Regions from separate parts of the Homo sapiens genome. Here region 1 is linked to region 2. The links are contacts of gene promoters, found by promoter capture Hi-C in human tissues and cell types (Jung and others, 2019). All regions are on one chromosome and are shown on one strand. The core of a region is centred on a gene start or on the middle of the fragment in contact, and the rest is flanking DNA. Distances in the headings are between cores, read along the strand shown.

Region 1 (6,090 bases), core at 1-2,500, 260 kb after region 2:
TCAGGTCCTCAGGCTGCAGCCCTGAGGATTCTGAGGCTCGGGGTCTGCTGGCCCTGCTGGGTGGACCGCCCCACTCTTTGTCCCTTGCCCTCTGCCCCCAGCCCACCATGCTGGCTGCTCACTTGGTCCTGAAGTCATCGGCTGCCAGCCTGGCATTGTCAATCTGCAAAATGGGCTGCGCATTCTCAATGGTGGCCGCAATGATCTGGAGTGGGGATGGAGGACAGGAGCCCTGGTCAGCCAAGGACCTTACTACTTGAGCATGAAAGGCAGAAAGGGGCAAAAGGAACCGCCCCAAATCTGGAAGTCTTCTGGCTGGCAGGGCTGGCATGCCTTCTCCACCAGCTCAGGCTACGTAGGGATGCACTCCATCCCGATCACCCCCTTCCTGGGCCCAAGGCAGGGAAGCTGAACTTGCAGCTGAACCCTTGAAGGAAATAAGAGATTTAGGGTAACAGCCCCAGTCCGGGCACAGAGATACTGAAAAGGGACCCTCTGCTACCACTTCCCTGGGTGATCCTGGCCACTCCCCAAAGGTGCCCAGTCTCCCTGTTTGTAAAGTGTAATTGCTAAAAAGAGGTATCCCAAGGGCCACTGTAGCCCCAGCCTCTCTCAGTGCTCCATACACCAAAGTCACCCACCTTGTTCCTCAGGTCCTCGATGGTCTTGAAGTAGGGACTGTAGTCTTTGATCTCACTGGGCCGCTGCCTCTGGTACCAGTCACGGATCTTCACTTCCAGGTCGGCGTTGGCCTCCTCCAGAGCACGCACCTTGTCCAGGTAGGAGGCCAGGCGGTCATTGAGGTTCTGCATGGTCACCTTCTCACTGCCCACCAGAAGCCCATCACCACCAGCAAAACCACCACCAAAGCCAGCACCCAAGCCACCACCGAAGCCAGCACCAAGGCCACCACCATATCCTCCCCCGAAGCCACTACCAAAGCTGCTGCTGCTGCTGAAGCCACCGCCATAGCCGCCCCCCAGCCCGCAGGCTCCCCCAGAGGAGAAGCGAGAGGAGACAGACAGGCCGCCCCCGTAGGTGCTGGGGGCACGGCAGGACCCTCCGGCCAGGACGGAGGAGATGCGGCTGGAGCCGCCCCCGATGCCGCCTCCGATGCCGCAGGAGCCCTTCATGGAGCTGGAGGAGGTGAACTGGCGGCTGCAGGTGGTCATGGTGCCAAGGAGGGAGGTGAGCGAGTGAGCAGTTGGCTGAAAGAAGGAAAGGTGCTCAGGAAGGCTGAGAGCGTGCTGTGGCTGCCTCCAACCCCAGAGACCTTTATATGCAGCTGGGGAAGGCGGGGCCCTCCTAACTGCTGACTCCAGGTTCCCCTCTGGATTTCATCACTCCCGGTCCCGTCCAACTCCTCACTCTGGATTATTCAGCCCAGGATCAACTCTGCTGTGTGCCGGCTCAGAGTTCCCACCCAGCTTTGGGGGTGTGGGGCCGAGAGAAAAACACAGAAATGCGAGTTCGGTGGTGACTCAGGCTAGGCGGTGGGGAATCAGGCTCCCTTTCCTGGAGCCCTCGGGGCCAGTCGGGCCTTGGCACAGGTGGCTTTGTGGCAACTGCGTCCCCAGGCAGTGAGTCAGCCCTTCAGAAGAACTCCCTGCCCCACAGTGACAGCCTTGGCTGAAAGAGAGCTCAGTGATGCCATCCTGGGCTGTCTTGGGGAGCAGTTGTGGGGATCCCACATGTCCCACTCTGGGCAGGGGCAGAGTTCCTGTCTTCACTCTGCTTGCTGTGTGGCCTGAGGCTCCCCACCTCCCACCTCTGGGCCTGTTTCCCCTCAGTGACCAGGCTGGACTGGGTGACTGCAGAGTCCCTTCTGTTCTAAAAATCCTATAACTCTCTTTCCCCTCTTGGATCTAATTCCAGTTCCAGAGGCTGCCTTGAGCCCCCGGGATCTCCAGAAGTGTGTGCACCATACAAACAGCACTGGCCATGGAGCTAGACAGGCGGCACTGAGTCCCTGCTCTGCCCTTACCAACTGTACAGCACAGGCTGGTCCTATAGCCCCTTGGTCCTCAGTTTTCTCATCTGTAAAAGGGGATGACACACCACTAGCCACAAAGAAACATGCGCGAAGGACCCCACCGGCCCTTCCCCGAGGGCCAGCCCTGCCCCTCAGCCTCCCCATCCTGCCCCTCCAGCCACCTGCTCCTCACACTCACCTCTACACACTGGCACCATCCCGCACCCCTAAGCAGGGCCCTGCGCCCCCCACACTCCCAGCTGAAGAACACCACAGCCCCACACCTAGCTCTGCCACTCCTCTACCGCCCTCTCCTAATCACAGGCACCCCACCTGCAGGCTGGTGGGAGGGAGCCCCATCCTGCCACTACAGCCAGGTATGACCCCTGACCCCACCTGGGCCTCAGAGTCCCCCCCTACCCTGTAGAAACAGGACTAGCCGGGGATCCGTTCCCAGCAGTTCTCTCTCCTGTGTCCACAGATCCCAGGCTAGGCCTGGCAGCTCCATTCATCCAGCTGAGCTGGGGGAGAGCACTGGTTATGGGCCCACTCAGGCATGCATGGAGAGCCCAGTGTGTGCCATACAGTTCTGTGAGCGTAGAGATTCACTCAAAGTCACTCTGCTTTAAGCTGCAGAGCTGCAACTAGAACCCAGAACTCTGGCCCTCTCCAGGCTCCCACCATGCCTGCAGGCGGGGCCAGTATACCCAACTCTCACCCACCTCCCCACGATCACTGGCAGGAGGTCTGCCCATGGTGGGCATGGCCTTGGCCTGAGAGCCTGGTCCAGCACCGAGGACTGGAGGGAGGATGGAGGGGTCTGGGCACCAAGACGGGGCCTCCTCAGGGTGCTGTGGGGCATCCCTCGGTGCTGGCCACTGGCCTTGCTCTGCAGTGTCTCTGTTGAGGTGAGGAGCCCAGAGACAGCCTGCTTCTGCCTGAGCTCCACTGGGGCAGGCAATTCCTTGTCTCAGCAGAACCAGGGTTTTGTCACTGCTACATCTCCCCTGGTCATTCATCCCAGAGGTAAGAGCAGAACGGATGCACATCCCTTCAGAGTCAAACCTGGGAGAGGGAACCTGACACTCCTCACCCCTACCCCAAAAAGGGGCAAAGGGGACCCCGGAATCTTGGACAAAAACCTCAGTGTTCAGGTGTCAGGTTGGGCCTGGAGTTCTGGTCCATCCACAGACCCATCACCCTCAGAACTGAAAATGGTCTTCAAGGTCACCAAAGGCTATTAATACCCCAACTGGAGAGAGCGAAAGCCTTATCCAGGTTAAGCAGCACAAAAGTGAGAGAGCAGAGACTCGAGCCAGCTCTAACTCCCAAGCCAGGATTCACACCGACTCTCGTAGTAGAGTCTCTGAGAACTCTTCACTCTCTGCCCCCATCGTGTGTGCATGCACACACACCCCTTTCTCATTGGCTCACTGCCCCCCACCAAGTTCCCCATTCCAGGAGGTGTCAGGGCGGGATTATACACAAGCCCAGCACTGCAGACCTGGGGATCTGCATGGGCTGAGAAGCTGCAGGAAGTTGCTGACCAACGCGCCAAACTGCTCAGCCAACTCCATAGATCACGCACCTGCTGTGTGTACAGCTCTCGGGGGCTGGGGGTGAAGAGGGAGATGATGACATAGTCTCTGACCTTAGAAGAACTTATCATTTGACCCTGGAGGGAAAACTAATGCTGGAAAATACAGAACCTGGCTAGAAACCCTGGGGTGCTGGGCTTGCCTGCCATGCCCACACCACAGGAGGCAGCTGGGGTAGGCATTGCCCCGCTGAGCCTCAGCAGTAGAGGAGGGGGCTGCCCTCCTGGCCTTGATCCCTGAAAGGGTCCTAGCAGAGAGAGGCACCAGCAGGGCCTCAGAGGATCTGAGTTGACAGAGGAGGAGGAGGAGGCGTTTCCTGTGCACCAGTGATGCACACCTGCCCCAAGGTGGCCAAGAGCCAGGACCACTAAGCCTGGTGAGCACAGAGAAGCCCAGTGGGCATCCTCCAGGCAGAGGATTCCTCCCCACACCCTGCCTCCTTCCTCCCTCCTTCGTACTGCCCATGTCAAGCATGAGGCATGAGATCATGGCATACCTGAGGCAGCCGGGAAACACCATTGGCCAATGCCACGCCTTGACTTGCAGTGATTCTCCAACCAGACAGATCGTCAGAGTCCCCATGAAGATTTGCAGCCCTGCTCCAACTCCCGCATCAGCACCGCTCAGGACAAGCCTGCTGGTGGGGCTGTTTTACAAGCTCCCCAGCCAACTCAGACTGGGAAGGCAGGAGGCAGCTTGGGGGCTAAGGAGGGGGGCAGAGAAGCTGAGGGGAGAGAGGGGGCTGCTGCAGGGCCCCCAGCCTCGGGTGGACAAGCCAGAGCCACAGGCTTCAGGGCAGGAGGAAGGAAAAGTAGAGCCCCACTGAGCCAGGACAGAGCAGCCTAGAATCGGGGCAAGCAGGGGCGAAATCTTGGGCAGGACATTCAGCCTCTCTGAGCCTCAGTTTCCTTCTCTGGGAAATGGGAATAACAGCCTTGCCTCACAGGCATATTAGGGGATTCGAGGCCAAATAAATAAAGCACCTGGAAAAGGCTGGTGGCTAGCGTTATGTTTATGAGCAGGTGTTTATAAAGTGCCTACTATGTGCCTGGCACTGTGCTGGGCACTCAGACTCAAAGAACAAGACAGAGAAGCCCTGGAGACACAGTCTTCTGGGGGAGAAGGTGGTAAAGACAATCCCAATACACTAATGTCAGGCCACGATGGGGTACTGGGGCCCTGCAGAGAAACAGAGAGAGCAGGGTCCCTGGGGGAGAACAAATGTCCAGGCCCAGGCTCTGCCCCTGTGACGGCTCCCGGGATCTGGGGAAATCTGTGAGTGCCAGGCCCACCTCTGGGGCTCCTATCCCCTCCTGCATGTTTGATGCCCCCCTTCTGAAGGTGGGGCTGTCATAGCCCTTCACAATCCAACCACAGATCTGCAGCTTCTGCCTTGATGATGGGGTGAAACATTCTGTGCATTGGGCAGGGTGGGTGTGGACGAACTGTGAGTCCCTCCATGAGTCCCATAGCTGGGTCTCCAGTCCAGCCCAGGCACATGTCCTCAGCAGCCTGGGCCCACTTGGGGTGCCTGTTCTGCACAAACAAGGAGCCCGGACTCCTGTGTGAGTCTCAGGAAACCCACAAGAGGGGCTCCCATTGCCCCCACCCCAGGAATGTGAGCAGGAAGCTGGTGCCTCCAGGGAAGGCTGCGGACCCCAGGGGGTTGTGGGAGAAAGAGTGGGCCTCTCTCAGGGATGTTTCTTCAAATGGTCACTACAGCTCAGGGTGAGGACGGGCCTCTGTCCAGCTCAGTTATCCCCTCAGCTCTGTGCATGGGGGGAGACCTGCCTGGCTCTGTTCCCTCTGTTCCCCTCATCTCCCCAAAACCTGGGTTGCCACAAGAGACCCACACTGCATAAAGGCTGAGGGACTGTTTTCAGTCCCTCAGGTCCCCTCGGGGCAGGCACTATCTCTTGGGGTCAGGACCGGTGTCTCCTCCTTCCCCTGGCAGGATGTCCTGCAGGGAGATGGATGTAGTGGGGGACACTCATCTCCCCCTGGACATGCTACCAGGTCAGCCCCTGCAAGGGGGATCCAGAGGTAGGCTACCACTGGCATGGACCTGGCCTGAGAATCATATGTGTGTGTCCATCACTCAAGACCAGGTGTGGCAGCTCCAAGGGCAACCACAGATCTGCAGCTTCTGCCTTGATGACAGGGTGGAACATTCTGTGCAGTGGGCAGGGAGTGTGTGGATGAACTGTGAGTCCCTCCATGAGTCCCATAGCTGGGTCCCCAGTCCACCCCAGGCACATGTCCCCAGCAGCCTGGGCCCACTTGGGGTGCCTGGACAGACAAAGCCGCTCAAGTCTCCCCACCATCCCCTGGCTCAGCTGTCTGGGCACACCGGGGGGCTCCCCCATTCTGGCATCCTGAGCCCCCCACCCACTCACTTTGTGGAGAAGGGTTTCTTCCCCAGCAGAGGGGCACAGTCTGGGGCCGTCTCTGGTCCTCCCCACACTCTGACCCCTCCTCACTTGTCCCATCAGTAATTGTGGACCCCAGGATCTACAGAGG
Region 2 (6,259 bases), core at 1,411-3,910:
GGAGAATTGGAATAGAAGATTGCTGCTGCATGCACTCTAACCTGGGCACAGGAGAGGCTGTGGCTTCTGCCTCATTACCCAGCTTTCCTCACTACTGGGCTTGCCAACTTCCTCACTCTCATTCCTGCCTCTGGCAGAAAAATCCTAATCTCATATCACAGGTTTTTAGATTAGTCATTCTCTACATATCCCTTTTTGTATGCAGAATTACTTCCTCAGCTAATTGAGCCTCTACTGACAGCCTGTCCTGGACCCTGTGGCAGTTGTGAAACAGGTCCTGGCTAGTCTGAGCCCATCACTCTTCAGGGAACTCACCTGCTCATGGTTCTGCTTGAGGCACAGCAGCTCCTCCTTCAGGGACTCCACCTGGGCCTCCAGGTCAGACCTGCACAGGGTCAGCTCATCCAGGATCCTGCGCAGGCCATTGATGTCCGACTCCACCAGCTGCCGCAGGGACAGCTCGGTCTCATATCTGTGATCACAGGAGGGTCAGGAACAGGCTGGGCAGGAATAGGCCTGGCCTTGACTCTGCTTTGGTTTGGTTAGTCAGGCAACTAGGAATTAGGGTTTGTAGTTTTTATAGCCATCTCTTTTGTTTAGGTTTTCAGCATCGAGCTGGAAGAAAATGCACTGGTAATTTTACGTTTAAAGATCCAGTGGATAGACTTCTATATTCCTAGCTATTCAGGAGGCTAAGGGGAGAGGGTTGCTTGAGCCCAGGAGTCTGAGGATCTGAAGTTACACTGAGCTATGATTGCACCACTGCCCTCCAGCCTGGGTGACAGAGCAAGGCCCTGTCTCTAAAAAAAAGAAGAAAGCCAGTGGATTTAGGATAAAAGCTGACAAACTGTAAGACTTCCAAAATAATATGCTTCCACATTCTCCATTCTCATGAATGGGTTCTGTGCATAGGAGAACATCGGGGGCCAACACGTCTACACTAACTCACAGTACGACTAGGGGTGTCACGTCACAGAGGAGAAGAAGGAGGAAAGGAAGTCTAAGGCCTGGGGAAAGGATCTCTGAGCTACGGTGTGTGGTGGCTCTGTGAATCTTGGAGAAAGCAGCTAGAACATAGCTCAGTCACTGTTTGTTTAACTTGTGTTGACAACAGGCTAAAGGAAAGGAGGGCTGCCAGAGAAGAGAAATAAACAGCAACACCCCGCTTGCCCACTCACTTGGTCCTGAAGTCATCTGAGGCCAGCTTGGCATTGTCGATCTGCACCACAAGCCTGGCATTCTCAGACTTGCTGCACAGGATCTAGAAGGCCCAAAACATTCAAGAATGAGCAAGGACTTGGTAATTTTTCACCAATGGCAGTCCTTCCTAATTCACTTCCTTGGAAGGATCAGGATGTCTATCTTATTAAATGCTTTCTATATACAGCAGGTACTCAATGAATATTTCCAAAATTATATTCAAAAAAAGAACACCAAAATATGCAAAAAGTATAAGTAGATAATCTTTTTTCTATCCTAATGAGCAATACTGAGAAGCTGATCATAATAGTTGACATTTATGAAAAACACCTACTATGTTTCTGGCATGATACTAGGAGCTGAGGATACAAAAATTGGTAAGCACTTGATCCTGCCCTCAAGAAACTTTCAATCAAGCAGAAAAGACAAATAGGTAAACTAGCAATTGCAGGGGACTGGATCAGGGAAGAAGCCACATGTTCCCAGATGTCCCAGACAACTGGGACTACTTTGTCCTAGGTAATTTCCAATCTTCCCAATTTGGGCCAAACATTTTAGGCTCTCACTGGACACTGTGCACCAGGAGAAGCCCAGAGGCATGAAGGTGAGGACAATGAAATCAGGATAAGTAGGAACCTAGAAGAGAGAGGCAGCCAGCAGTCCAAGGGGCAAAAAGCTCAGATGAGGGAGAAAGAAAATGGCCCAGTCTTTACAAAAGATTCCGTTTCCCCAGCTTCCTTTGGACTCAGTCCTTTTCTCTCACCTCAGGGTAATAATTCTGGAGCTTGGCAGGTGCATGGAAGCATTCAGAGGTAGTTTTTAATTACAGCTCATTTATGCAAAGTGCTGCTACCTCCACATAGACTAACACTATGCAAATATTTAGACCTAACAGTCCCAAGTCTAGTATTAGATGGGCCCTCAAAAAACAAAATGGAAAGGCCAGTTTTCAGCTTTTCATTCACATCAAGAGCTTACGTTGTTTCTCAATCACAACTCGGATTCTCTCCCGACAACTTCCTACTGGAGGCACTGTGTCGCCCACTCCTCACCTTCTGCTGGAGCTCCTCAATGGTCTTGAAGTAGGACTGGTAGCTGGCACACACCAAGGGCTCCTGCTGCTGTGACCGCTCCCGGATGAGGTTCTCCAGCTCCGCGTTGTCCCGCTCCAGCTGACGCACCTTCTCCAGGTAGCTGGCCAGGCGGTCGTTCAGGAACTGCATGGTCTCCTTCTCACTGCCATTGAAGGAGCCCTCACAGAACCAGTTGCAGTTGCTCACATTGGCGGGGATGTTGCAGGCCCCGGGCAGGGTGCAGCCGTGGCAGCTGGGGGGCACACAGGGCCGGGAGGAGCAGCTGGTGCGGCAGCTCAGGCTGGGCAGGCCACAACTGTAAGACATGGTGCAGGGAGGGAGTGTCCAGCTGAAGACAGAGTCCAAAATCTCCAGGTTGTAGAGCGGTGGGTCTCCTTCCTCCAGGGAGCATTTATACCTCGTCCATGGAGGGTGTGGACACGTAAGACAACCCCTTTTTTTTTTTTTTTTTTTTGCTCATTTGGTGATTGTCAAAAGCCCTTCCCTCCATTTGTTGTGTTTCTTCAGAAGAGTCTCTCCCCTCATAAAATACTTTACTTGGGCTTCTCGCTAAGTCGGGACTCCTCTTCCATGCTGTGTGTCATGATGTAAGAGCTTCATGGTGTGACTTCAAAGACCTGGACTCATGAAAGCCCTGGCCTTCTTCAGTGGGGTGCAGCAGGTCAAGAGACAGTATTGCTGTTCTGCTTTGTGGCTTGAGGCCCCTAACTCTTTGGCAAGCTCTGGCTCTCCTTGGTGAAATGGAAAAGCATAGCTCTTGCCCTGTGTCTTTTGCTAGGTCACATTTCCAAGTGCCAAATTCCAAATTCATGGTTCTCAGAAAGAGGAATAGATCCTTTCTGGGACAGTTCCTGATGGCCATGTTTCCTGATATGATGGGCTTTTTTCATGTCCATGATGACGTCAATCAACCAAATAATAGATATCCACTATGACAATTTCATCCAGGGCGATGTAATAGACACTGGGAGGGGTGGAAAATAGGACTCAATGCTATGGTCAGAAGAAGTTCTTACTTGTTAAGAAACTGCACAAGCCCAAGGTAGTGTGGACACTTTTCACAAACTAGATCCTTTTTACAAACATGATCCTCAAACATGCAGAACTTAGATGTCCATTATTCCTCACCAGAACTCTTAAAGGTAAACTGTATAATTCCCATTTTATAGATGAGAACACCAAGGCATAGAGGGTGAGGATAATAAGTTGTGGACCTAGGATTCCAAAGCAGATCACTTTTCTTTTCATCACAACACTTGGCTTAAATATAAATGGCTTACTTCCTTCCCTTCTTCAGACAGGCCGTCCCTTTCTCCTCTCCAAGCTCTCTTTTTACCTTGAGCATGACACTGTCATGACTTATGTGCTTGTCTCTCTGTCTCTATTTGAGGTCCCTGAAGGCAAGGGCAGGGTCTAGTTTGTCTTTGAATCCCCAGCTCTAGGCACCTGGTAGGCACTGTTGAATGGGTGTGGGTAGAGTGATGAAGGGATGAACAGGAAATAATAATCTGAGGCAGAAGTTGACAAGTGATAACTGAGTGGTTTACACACTGGGGAGGGCGAGCAGCTCCAGGATTGGAGGCTCTTAGGAATGGATGAATGGATTTGTGCTGGGATAGGGAGGCTTCTAAGAAGCAGAGGGGAGAAAAGTAGGAAGTGCAGGTGAGGAGAATAATGTGCACACAGGAATGGGGTGGGAAAGCCCAAGGCATGGTTGAAGGACCAGGGTAAGTCTAGGCAGCAGGAAGGGGAGAGTTGTGAAGGGAAGTGCTAGAAATTAAAGCTTTATGGGGGATTGTATGGGGACCCTATGGTAGGGGGTCTCGATGGTGAAGTGGAGCAGCTTGGACTTCCCCAGAAGCTGTAGAGCCAGTATAAGCTTTTGAACCTAAGTGTGGTGTGACAAAAGGTGTTTTAGGAAATGTTTTAGCAAATATTTATCTGTTTTTGAAAAATGAAGGAAAGATTGGAGGCAAAGAGTTCAGCAAAGAGACTATTGCAACAGTCCATGCAAGACTAGAATTTATGGCAGGGATGATGATACAGATAAGGTTTAGTACAAGTGAGAGAGTTAGAGAACTGGGCCAAGGGAGAGTACAAAGAGAAGAGCAACAAGGAGCTGAGGACCAAACTTTGGAGAATTTCCCAATCAGAGATCAGGAGAAGGAAAAAGAATCTGTGATAAATGGAGAAATGGTGAGAAAAAAATGATAAAAACAAGTTCATGGCATCCCAGAAGGGCAGGAAGGAGGGTGCTTCCAAGAGGAGGTGATGTTAGAAGTGCCAAGTGCAGCAAAGGGGCCGCACATGATCAGGACCATGGAGAGGGTATTGGCTGCCTTGACCAGAAATTTACCAGGACCTTTCCAGGGTCACACAGGTATGCCTGCTGTACGCAGCGCCTGTGCACATTCTTAAAGTAATGCCCACAGTGAACTTCGGTAAACCAAGACTTCAAACACACAGAATTGAGATGTTCATTACTTAGAGAAGTTCTGCTGCAATAAATTTATATATCTGATTATTAAGCTTGGAGCTTTGATCTTACCAATACAGACTTTTATACAATAATTGGAGTGGGCTTTACGCAGATGCCAGACTTGTTTGAACTTGATGATTCGTAATAGTTTATTATTTAGGAACAATTATCCAAGAAGCATGAGTAATCTGAACTGACCGTGCATATGACACCACTTCTGTTTTGTCACAAGATGTAAGATGAGCCTTATTTGATATCCTAAAGAGGCAATGAGGAAAAAATTCAAGTATGGGCCTGAGGAGGCATACATTGGCCAGAAAGAGGAGGGGCTTCCTATGTCCTTGCTAGCAGAGGATAAAGCAGACAACAGATTCCAAGCCTCCCAGCTACAGCTACCAATCCAAGCAGCTTCCAAGCCTCCCAGCTACAGCTACAGACCAAAAACCAGATGGCTTTGCATTTGGCTCTTCTCTTCCTCCCTCTTACCTCCTAACATAGATCCTAAATATGAAAATGGTTAAAAGAGAGAGGGAAAATCTTGGAACAAGATATTGGGGATCCTAATGGTCAACTCATCCAAACCGTTCGTTTTACGAAGGGGAAACTGAGGCTCAGAATGGAGAAATGCCTTGCTTAGTATCATCTAGCTAGGACCCAGATCTTCTGATTCCCACTGCATTATCAGCCCAATCACCATTCTACTGAAATGTTGAAGAATTTCACAAACAATCTGATCTGTTATTACCTAAGGACAGAAATCAAGGGCAGTGAGAAAAACATCTTGTTAACCATAGATATGCTGTGTTGAAGAAGAATTATGAGTCAATGTGTAAATAAAGATAGAATTCAGCAATAGTACAGTTTCTTGTTAACTCTCTGATTTCAATTATTTCTAAGTTGATGATACAATTATATACCAACAATTTGGAGTAATTTAAACATAATTATATCCCATCAGATATAGATTATATCCCATCTGTTTGGAGCAACTTAGAACAATTGGTCAAACAATGGTGACCCTACTCGACAGCAATATGCTTATCCAGAGTAAGGTACACAAAAGATAGTCACAACAAAATTAAACTATTATTAAAATGGGGACAATTGAGAGATTAAAGAAAACACACCACAATGACACTGGATGCTATTAAATGACAGGATTATGAATGTTTTTTTTCTTCTCTCCAAATTCTTTGAAAATATATGTTACTTCTGCACAATAAACAAAATAAAATTTACATTTAAAATTTCAGAAGGAAATTCTTGCAAATCTTCTAGAGGAACAATGAGTTATTAAAAAAAAAAAGCCTAGGAGGCTCCTGTTCCAATATAATTACTACATTACACTTGAGCCTGTTCTAGAAATAAAGTCTTTGTTGTGATCGGCATTCATGCCCTTGTGATATCTGCTGACTTTGTCCATTCCAAAGGTGAGCTACTAAGAAGGAATGAAGGGAAATCAAGCTACCTATAGCTCATGAATTGA

The links. The method cuts DNA at HindIII sites, captures the fragments that hold promoters and counts their contacts. A contact is called where the count stands out against the background at its distance.
Region 1: a contact is called between the fragment with the promoter of KRT16 here and the fragment with the promoter of KRT33A in region 2, in 2 of the 25 tissues and cell types used here (mesenchymal stem cells and spleen).

Annotation. Positions count from the first base shown.
Region 1 is chr17:41,611,517-41,617,606 of GRCh38, forward strand. It overlaps KRT16 (keratin 16), which reads right to left and starts at 1,251. Exons shown (of 8, transcript NM_005557.4): 1 at 642-1,251; 2 at 123-205. The coding sequence starts at 1,172. RefSeq lists an enhancer at 2,282-2,830. The HindIII fragment of the contact is 12,932 bases long and covers 1-6,090 here.
Region 2 is chr17:41,348,168-41,354,426 of GRCh38, forward strand. It overlaps KRT33A (keratin 33A), which reads right to left and starts at 2,661. Exons shown (of 7, transcript NM_004138.4): 1 at 2,253-2,661; 2 at 1,179-1,261; 3 at 316-472. The coding sequence starts at 2,600. LOC105371778 (a long non-coding RNA gene) reads left to right here and starts at 3,330. Exons shown (of 2, transcript XR_001753056.1): 1 at 3,330-3,436; 2 at 4,255-5,631. The HindIII fragment of the contact is 5,093 bases long and covers 1-4,498 here.